2 separate regions of the Homo sapiens genome follow, and region 2 is linked to region 1. The links are contacts of gene promoters, found by promoter capture Hi-C in human tissues and cell types (Jung and others, 2019). All regions are on one chromosome and are shown on one strand. Each heading gives the region's core, a stretch centred on a gene start or on the middle of the fragment in contact. The rest is flanking DNA. Distances are from core to core; before and after follow the strand shown. Region 1 holds the start of SNRPD1 (small nuclear ribonucleoprotein D1 polypeptide). Region 2 overlaps ESCO1 (establishment of sister chromatid cohesion N-acetyltransferase 1).

What was found. The method cuts DNA at HindIII sites, captures the fragments that hold promoters and counts their contacts. A contact is called where the count stands out against the background at its distance.
Region 2: a fragment that was not itself captured here is called in contact with the fragment with the promoter of SNRPD1 in region 1 in 1 of the 25 tissues and cell types used here (dorsolateral prefrontal cortex).

The regions. Positions count from the first base shown.
Region 1 is chr18:21,609,988-21,613,969 of GRCh38, forward strand. It overlaps SNRPD1 (small nuclear ribonucleoprotein D1 polypeptide), which reads left to right and starts at 2,327. Exons shown (of 4, transcript NM_006938.4): 1 at 2,327-2,456. The coding sequence starts at 2,443. RefSeq lists a silencer at 2,076-2,125 and an enhancer at 2,386-2,475. The HindIII fragment of the contact is 13,798 bases long and covers 1-3,982 here.
Region 2 is chr18:21,561,835-21,565,816 of GRCh38, forward strand. It overlaps ESCO1 (establishment of sister chromatid cohesion N-acetyltransferase 1), which reads right to left. Exons shown (of 12, transcript NM_052911.3): 7 at 2,369-2,483. Among named protein-coding and RNA genes, the nearest start is that of ESCO1, 37 kb to the right of the region's middle. The HindIII fragment of the contact is 5,082 bases long and covers 1-3,982 here.

The DNA of each region.
Region 1 (3,982 bases), core at 1,077-3,576:
CAGCTAATTTTTGTATTTTTAGTGGAGACGAGGTTTCACCATGTTGGCCAGGATGGTCTCGATCTCTTGACCTCATGATCTGCCCATCTCGGCCTCCCAAAGTGCTGAGATTACAGGCATGAGCCACCATGCCCAGCCGATAAGTATTGTCTTACAATATCTAAGAGTTCTGTTGATCAGCGATGAAGTCTAGGCTAGAGATACAAATCAAAGTCATGGTTTTGGAGGAGATTACCAGGTTAAAAGAAAAAGTATACATAAAAAGACTACAGCCACAAGCCGGGAAACACTGTGACATGTATTGGCTCCATAGGGAAGGAGGAACCAGCTAAGGAGATTTAGAAAGAGTAGTTAGAGGCTGGGCATGGAGGCTCTGGGCCTGTAAACCCAGTACTTTGGGAGGCCACGGCAGTGGAATCTCTTGAGCCCAGGAGTTGGATACTAGCCTGGGCAACATAGTAAGACCTCTTCTCTACGAAATAAAAAATAAAATATTAGCTGGGCATGGTGGCACGCACTTGTGGTCCCAGCTACTGAGAAGGCTGAGGCAGGAGGATAGCTTGAGCCCAGACGGTCAAGGCTGCAGTGAGCCCTGATTGTGCCATTGCACTCCTGCCTGGGCAACAGAGCGAGAAACCCTGTCTATAAACAAAACAAAACAAAGCAAGAGTAGTTAGTAGGATAAGGAAAAAGGCCAGGTGAGCTTGGCATCCTGAAACCCGAAAGAGGGAAGGGGAGTGTTTGTGTTAAATTTTGATGAAGCTCACATACTAAAGAGACAATAATGCCGGGCGCGGTGGCTCACGCCTATAATCCCAGCACTTTGGGAGGCCGAGGCGGGCGGATCACGAGGTCAGGAGATCGAAACCATCCTGGCTAACCCCGTCTCTACTAAAAATACAAAAAAATTAGCCGGGCGTGGTGGCTGGCGCCTGTAGTCCCAGCTACTTGGGAGGCCGAGGCAGGAGAATAGCGTGAACCCGGAAGGCGGAGCTTGCAGTGAGCCGAGATCGCGCCACTGCACTACAGCCTGGGCGACAGAGGGAGACTCTGTCTCAAAATACATACATACGTACGTACATACATACATACATAAAAAGACGATAATTAGCGGGCCATGGTGATGCGCGCCTGTAATCTCAGTTACTGGAGAGGCTGAGGCACGAGAATGGCTTGAAACCGGGAGGCAAGGGTTGCAGTGAGCTGAGATCGCGCTACTGCACTCCGGCCTGGGCGACAGAGTGAGACTCCATCTCAAAAAAATAAAAAATATATATATTTTGATGAGATGTTGAGAAAGATGAAGACTGAAAAGTTTGTCTTATAGATTGGAACTTAAAGTGAAAATAATCTGCTACATTGTGGATTTTATTTTTATTATTATTATTTTTTGAGACGGAGTCTCGCTCTGTTGCCAGGCTGGAGTGCAGTGGCACGATCTCAGCTCACTGCAACCTCCACCTCCTGGGTTCAAGCGATTCTCCTGCCTCAGCCTCCCGAATAGCTGGGACTACAGGCGCGCATCACCACGCCCCGCTAATTTTTGTATTTTTAGTAGAGGCGGGGTTTCACCATGTTGGCCAGAATGGTCTCGATCTCTTGACCTCGCTATCTGCCCGCCTCGGCCTCCCAAAGTGCTGGAATTACAGGCTTGAGCCACAGCGCCTGGCCCATTGTGTGATTTGCTTCAGGTACAGTAAGCAATGCTAGGTTCCTGGTGTTGGAACAGAATCAGCATAAGACTTTGGGCTTCTCTAAGACCTTCTTTCCGTTCAGTGAGGAATTTGTATTAGGTGCTGCACTCACAGTGCCCTGCTGTTCAGAAACGTGATGGTGACAGTACTTTTTTTTTTTTTTTTTTTTTTTGGGAGACGGAGTTTCGTTCTTGTTGCCCAGGCAGGAGTGTAGTGGTGCGATCTCCGCTCACTGCAGCCTCCGCCTCCCGGGTTCAAGCGATTCCCCTGCCTCAGCCTTCCGAGTAGCTGGGATTACATGCGCCCGCCACCACGCCCAGCTAATTTTTTGTCTTTTTAGTAGAGACGGGGGTTTCACCCTGTTGGCCAGGCTGGTCTTGAACTCCTGACCTCAGGTGATACCCCCGCTTCGGCCTCCCAAAATGCGACAGTCCTATTAATTGGATTTAATCTCTTCGAATCTCCCTCTCTTGTAGGACATTTTTCTCCAAGACCAGCCCTCGATACCCTCAGCCGTCGCAAGGCAACCTCCAGCCGCCAGGGGCCGCAGTCGCGCTCCTCGCGGCCGGAAGAGAGTGCGGCCCAGCGCAGCCTCGGCGTTTCCGCCATGCGCCTGCAGTGCTCCGCGCGCTCTTGACGTCCGGAGCCCCTGGAGTAGGCGCTTCCGGCCATTCATACTGCAGTCGGTCAGTGTTCGGTTGAAGGATTCTGTGTGCTGTCGGACCCAGAGGGTGACGGCGCCGCTAGGATGAAGCTCGTGAGGTGAGGGAGTGACCAAGCAGCTCTGGGGGCTGTGAAGGGAGGGCTTGGCCCGGAGTCCGGAAGGCTGGGCTCTCCCATTTGCAGGAGGCGGGAAAGCCGCGTGTGCGCGGCCTGCTAACGGCCGGCCTTACTGCGCCCGCAGCTCGTGCTCGGGCCTGGGCTTCCGCCTGGGTCGCTCGCGGATCCCGCGTGTCTTCCAAGAGATTGGTATAAAGGCCGAGCCTTTTCTTCCTGCCTAGTGACTTAGAGGCTTTAAAGATGCAGCGCCTCCTGGGACACATCTCCCTCTTACAGTTACTCATTTTCTTTTTGAGTGGAACTCCCCAGTCCTGCTTAACAGTACTTAGAAAGCTGTATGAGCTTATCTGGAAACAAACCTGTTTGCAAAATATTTTAAATCAGAGAAGGACTTCCGGCTTCACAAGTTTTTGTTTTTTTAAATAAAGATGGTGTCTCACTTTGTTGACCAGGCTGGTCTCGAACTCCTGGGCTCAAGCTTTCTGCCCGCCTCGCCCTTCCAAAGGGCTGAGATTACAGGTTTGAGCCACCGTGCCCGGCCGATTTTTAAGTTTACCTTTTTATCCTCCTTAGATTTGTGATTGATTATTCCACCTCTATTTCCCTTTAAGGTAGGCTTTTTATTTAGGAAAATCTCCCAATATAGGGCAGAAATTATCACAACGTAATTGTGGCTGATTACTCAGATAATATATAGTTCTCCTGTTTTATTTCTTAAGAAATAAATAGACCCTGTCAGTTAGGTGAGTCTTCTGAAAACTTGTTTGCTGATGTGAATAATTCTAAACTACCTGCAAGTAGATTTGGTTTTGGTGTTTTTCCTTGAGACTAAGCCTGGAACAGAGGCAGACGTTTCTAATAGCTAAGCCAGCAATTATAAATATTTAGCTTGTTTTTTTCCTGTTGAGTCAAGGATTGTCAATATCCGCTAAATAGTTATTGGGCACCTGTTACATACTAGGCGCTGGTAATAGGATTTTTTAAAAGGCAGAGTACCTGCCTTGTTGGAGTTTTCTGGTTAGTGGGGATGACAGACAAGTAGATAACGTCTGAAGTAACGTTTGTTTGAAACGTTTTAAATAACACATAAAAGCCTTCAACACTCAGGGAGGAGGCCAGGCGCAGTGGCTCACGTCTGTAATCCCAGCACTTTGGGAGGCCAAGGCGGGTGGATCACTAGGTCAGGAGTTCGAGACCAGCCTGACCAACATGGTGAAACCCCGTCTCTACGAAAATTACAAAAGTTAGTGGGGCGTGGTGGCGCGCGCCTTTAATCCCAGCTACTCAGGAGGCTGAGGCAGGAGAATCGCTTGAACCCAGGCGGCAGAGGTTGCAGTGAGCCGATATCGTGGCACTACGCTCCAGCCTGGGCGACAGAGCGAGACTCCATCTCAAAAAAAAAAAAAAAAAAAAAAAATTATATTCAGGGAGGAGTTGGTACAAAAGACATTTAAGGTTAATTTTTGGTATATTTTTATTTGAACTATAACTTTGGATAGGAAGTCATA
Region 2 (3,982 bases), core at 803-3,302, 48 kb before region 1:
TAGGATTACAGGTGTGAGCCACTGCACCCAGGTAGACTCTTTTTTATTTTTATATTTAATTTGAGACAGAGTCTTGCTCTGTCACCGAGGCTGGAGTGCAGTGGCGCCATCTTGGCTCACTGCAACCTCCCACTCCTGGGTTCAAGCGATTCTCCTGCCTCAGCCTCCTGAGTAGACGGGATTACAGGCACCCACCAACATGCCCAGCTAATTTTTATATCTTTTAATAGAGACCGGGTTTTGCCATGTTGGCCAGGCTGGTCTCAAACTCCTGACATCAGGTGATCCACCTGCCTCGGCCTCCCAAAGTGCTAGGATTACAGGCATGAGCCACCGCACCCAATCCATTCCATTTTTTAATGTCTTAAAAGTCTGGGGGGCCACCTGAGGTGGCTCACGCTTGTAATCCCAGCACTCTGGATCACGAGGTCAGGAGTTCAAGACCAGCCTAGCCAACATGGTGAAACCCCATCTCTACTAAAAATACAACAAATAGCCAGGCACGGTGGTGCGTGCCTGTAAACCCAGCTACTAGGGAGGCTGAGGCAGGAGAATCACTTGAACCTGGGAAGCAGAGGTTGCAGTGAGCCAAGATTGTGCCACTGCACTCCAGCCTGGGTGACTCCGTCTTACAAAAAAAAAAAAAAAATTAACAATTAGCTGTGTGTGGTGACGCATGTCTGTTAGTCCCAGCTATTCAGCAGGCTGAGGTGAGAGGATCACTTGAGGCTGGGAGGTTGAGGCTGCAAGTGAGCTGTGATCACACCATTGCACTCTAGCCTGGGTGACAGCATGAGACCCTATCTTAAAAAAAAAAAAATCCTACTGATTATGTTGACTGTAACTACATAAATGTTCCTAGTACTTTGGGTGCCTTAATTTTTTTATATTCACTCATTCAAGTTAGATTTTTAATCAATCAAAATATCTCCTGTTTTCCAATTTATCTTCCTGTAATTTAAAATGTAACTTTAAAATAATAATGTATTCTGCAATATAGATATTCAAAATCATTTTATACATTAAGTTCCATGTTATTATTTTTTTTTTTTTTGAGATGGAGTATCGCTCTTGTTGTCCAGGCTGGAGTGCAATGGCATGATCTCAGCTCACCGAAACCTCCACCTTCCGAGTTCAAGGGATTCTCCTGTTTTAGCCTCCCGAGCAGCTGGGATTATAGGAACGAATCACCACGCCCAGCTAATTTTGTATTTTTAGTAGAGATGGGCTTTCTCGGTGTTGGTCAGGCTGGTCTTGAACTCCCACCCTCAGGTGATCCGCCCATTTCGGCCTCCCAAAGTGCTGGAATTACAGGCGTGAGCCACTGCACCTGGACAAGTTCCATGTTATTTTAACATTTAAATCAACTACTGAAAGGAGGTAGTGATCAAATGACAAATCTAAGAAAGTAACAGATGTGAAATAAAGTATCACAATTTGTTATAAAACTAGAAGTATGAAAACAATTACTGTTACAAGACAAAGTCACTATTTAAGAAGGGGGTTGTAATAACACCAGGAATATTTTTCTGAGACAGAGTCTCGCTCTGTTGCCCAGGCTGGAGTGCAATGGCACCATCTCAGCTCACTGCAACCTCTGCCTGCCAGGTTCATGCGACTCTCCTGCCTCAGATTCCTAAGTAGCTGGGATTACAGGCATCTGCCACCACGCCTGGCTAATTTTTGCATTTTTAGTAGAGACAGGATTTCACCATGCTGGCCAGGCTGGTCTCAAACTCCCGACCTCAGGTGATCCACCCACCTTGGCCTCCCAAAGTGCTGGGATTATAGGCATGAGCCACTGCACCTGGCCTGGGAACATTTTTCATACTAAAATTTATTATGACAAAAAGGCTCTTTGGCAAAAGTGAATGAATTTATTCTTTAAAACCTTGCATAAATACAATGCTGCTATGATTTTGATATGATTTGATTTGTCTCCACCAAAATTTATGGGGAAATTTGATGTCCAATGTGACAGTGTTTGGAGGTGGGGCTTAGTGAGATATGTTTGCGTCTTAGAGGTGAATCCCGCACAAATAGGTTAATGCCCTCAAATGCCCTCCTGCTGGGGTGAGCAGGGTTAAAAAAAAAAAAAAAGAGTCTGGCTTCCTTGGTTTCTCTCTCTTGCTTCCTCCCTTACCACGTGGTCTCTCTGCACATGAGCTCACTCCCTTTCTGCTTTCCTCCATAAGTTGAAGCAATCTGCCACCCTCACCAGATGCAGATGTCAGGCCATAGAACCACAAGCCAAATAAACCTCTTTTCTATAAAAATTACCAACCTCAGATATCGTATTATAGCAACATGAAATATACTAAGATGGTTCTAACAACAATTCACCAAAATGGTCAAGTTGTGTACTTACTATAATCAACTGTTTTTCATCAGTTTTCTCTGCTTCTTTTAGTTTCAAGTCCTTTGGAATTGTTATCTCCAAATGGGAATTACACTTAGGCAAAGAATGATTTCGTGGTGTCTCCCTTAAAAAAAATAAAATTACTAAATGTTACAGATCCAAGTCATTTCACATCATTTGAAGGGGAAAAAATAACTTATTTTCTTTTTTTTTTTGAGACGAAGTCTCACTCTGTCGCCCAGGCTGGAGTGCAGTGGCGCAATCTTGGCTCACTGCAAACTTTGCCTCCTGGGTTCATGCCATTCTCCTGCCTCAGCCTCCTGAGTAGCTGGGACTACAGGTGCCAGCCACCACGCCCAGCTAATTTTTTTTTTTTGTATTTTTAGTAGAGACGGGGTTTCACCATGTTAGCCAGGATGGTCTCGATCTCCTGACCTCGTGATCCGCCTGCCTCAGCCTCCCAAAGTGCTGGGATTACAGGCGTGAGCCACCGCGCCCGGCAAAAATAACTTATTTTCTACACAACGCTGATAAATTTCAGCTTCAAGAGAGGGAGAAAAACCTTTTAAAAATCAAGGAGCAGGCCTGGCATGGTGGCTCATGCCTATAAAATCCCAGCACTTTGAGAGGCCAAGGCAGGCAGATTGCCTGAGCTCAGGAGATCGCGACCAGCCTGGGCAACACGGTGAAACCCCGTTTCTACTAAAATAAAAATAAATAAATAAAATAAAAATTAGCCAGGTGTGGCAGCGTGTGCCTGTAGTCCTAGCTACTCAGGAGGCTGAGGCAGGAGAATTGCTTGAACCTGGGAGGCGGAGGTTGCGGTGAGCCGAAATCACGCCACTGCACTCCAGCCTGGCGACAGAGCGAGACTCCGTCTCAAAAAATAATAATAATAAAAATAAAGGGGGAAAGAAAATTACTAATTTTCAGTAAAAAAACAAAAACTAATTTTCAGTAAAAAAACAAAAACTAATTTTCAGTAAAAAAAAGGCAACACTTACCACAGTTTGAATATGCTTTTAAGTTTTATAGTTTTAGCTATCTAAGTCATTCCAATTTGTACTAAATACTGTTTGTTGTTAATCCAAAAGGCAAAATAAGTCAGATCTATTTAATTCTGACATTAAAAAGAAAACAAAAAGCTTTTAATCTTACTTAAACACTCTTACATGTTGCTAATACCTAGTATTTCTAGAAGTCTAGGGAAAAGGGCATTCTCAAACACTATTGAGACAGGCCAACCACTTTGGAGGAAAGTCTGACAATGCGGGATAAGTTCTATAGCTATGAGATACAGACACACAAGTAAGCAAAGATACATGTGTTTAACATAGGATTTGTCTTTTCTGGATAGAAATGAACCAGAAATATCCAAAATGTTCATAAAGCATAGAACTGTTAAACCACGGTAAAGTCACACAATGAAATTTAATGCAGAATTTAGAAGAATAAGGTAGCTGCCAGATACTGTGGCTCACACCTATAATCCCAGAGATTTGAGAGGCCGAGGTGGGAGAATCACTTGAGGCCAGGAGTTCGAGACCAGCCTGAGCAGCATAGCAAGACCTTCTCTCTAAAAAAAGAATTTTTTTTAATTATCCAGGTATGGTGCCACACTAT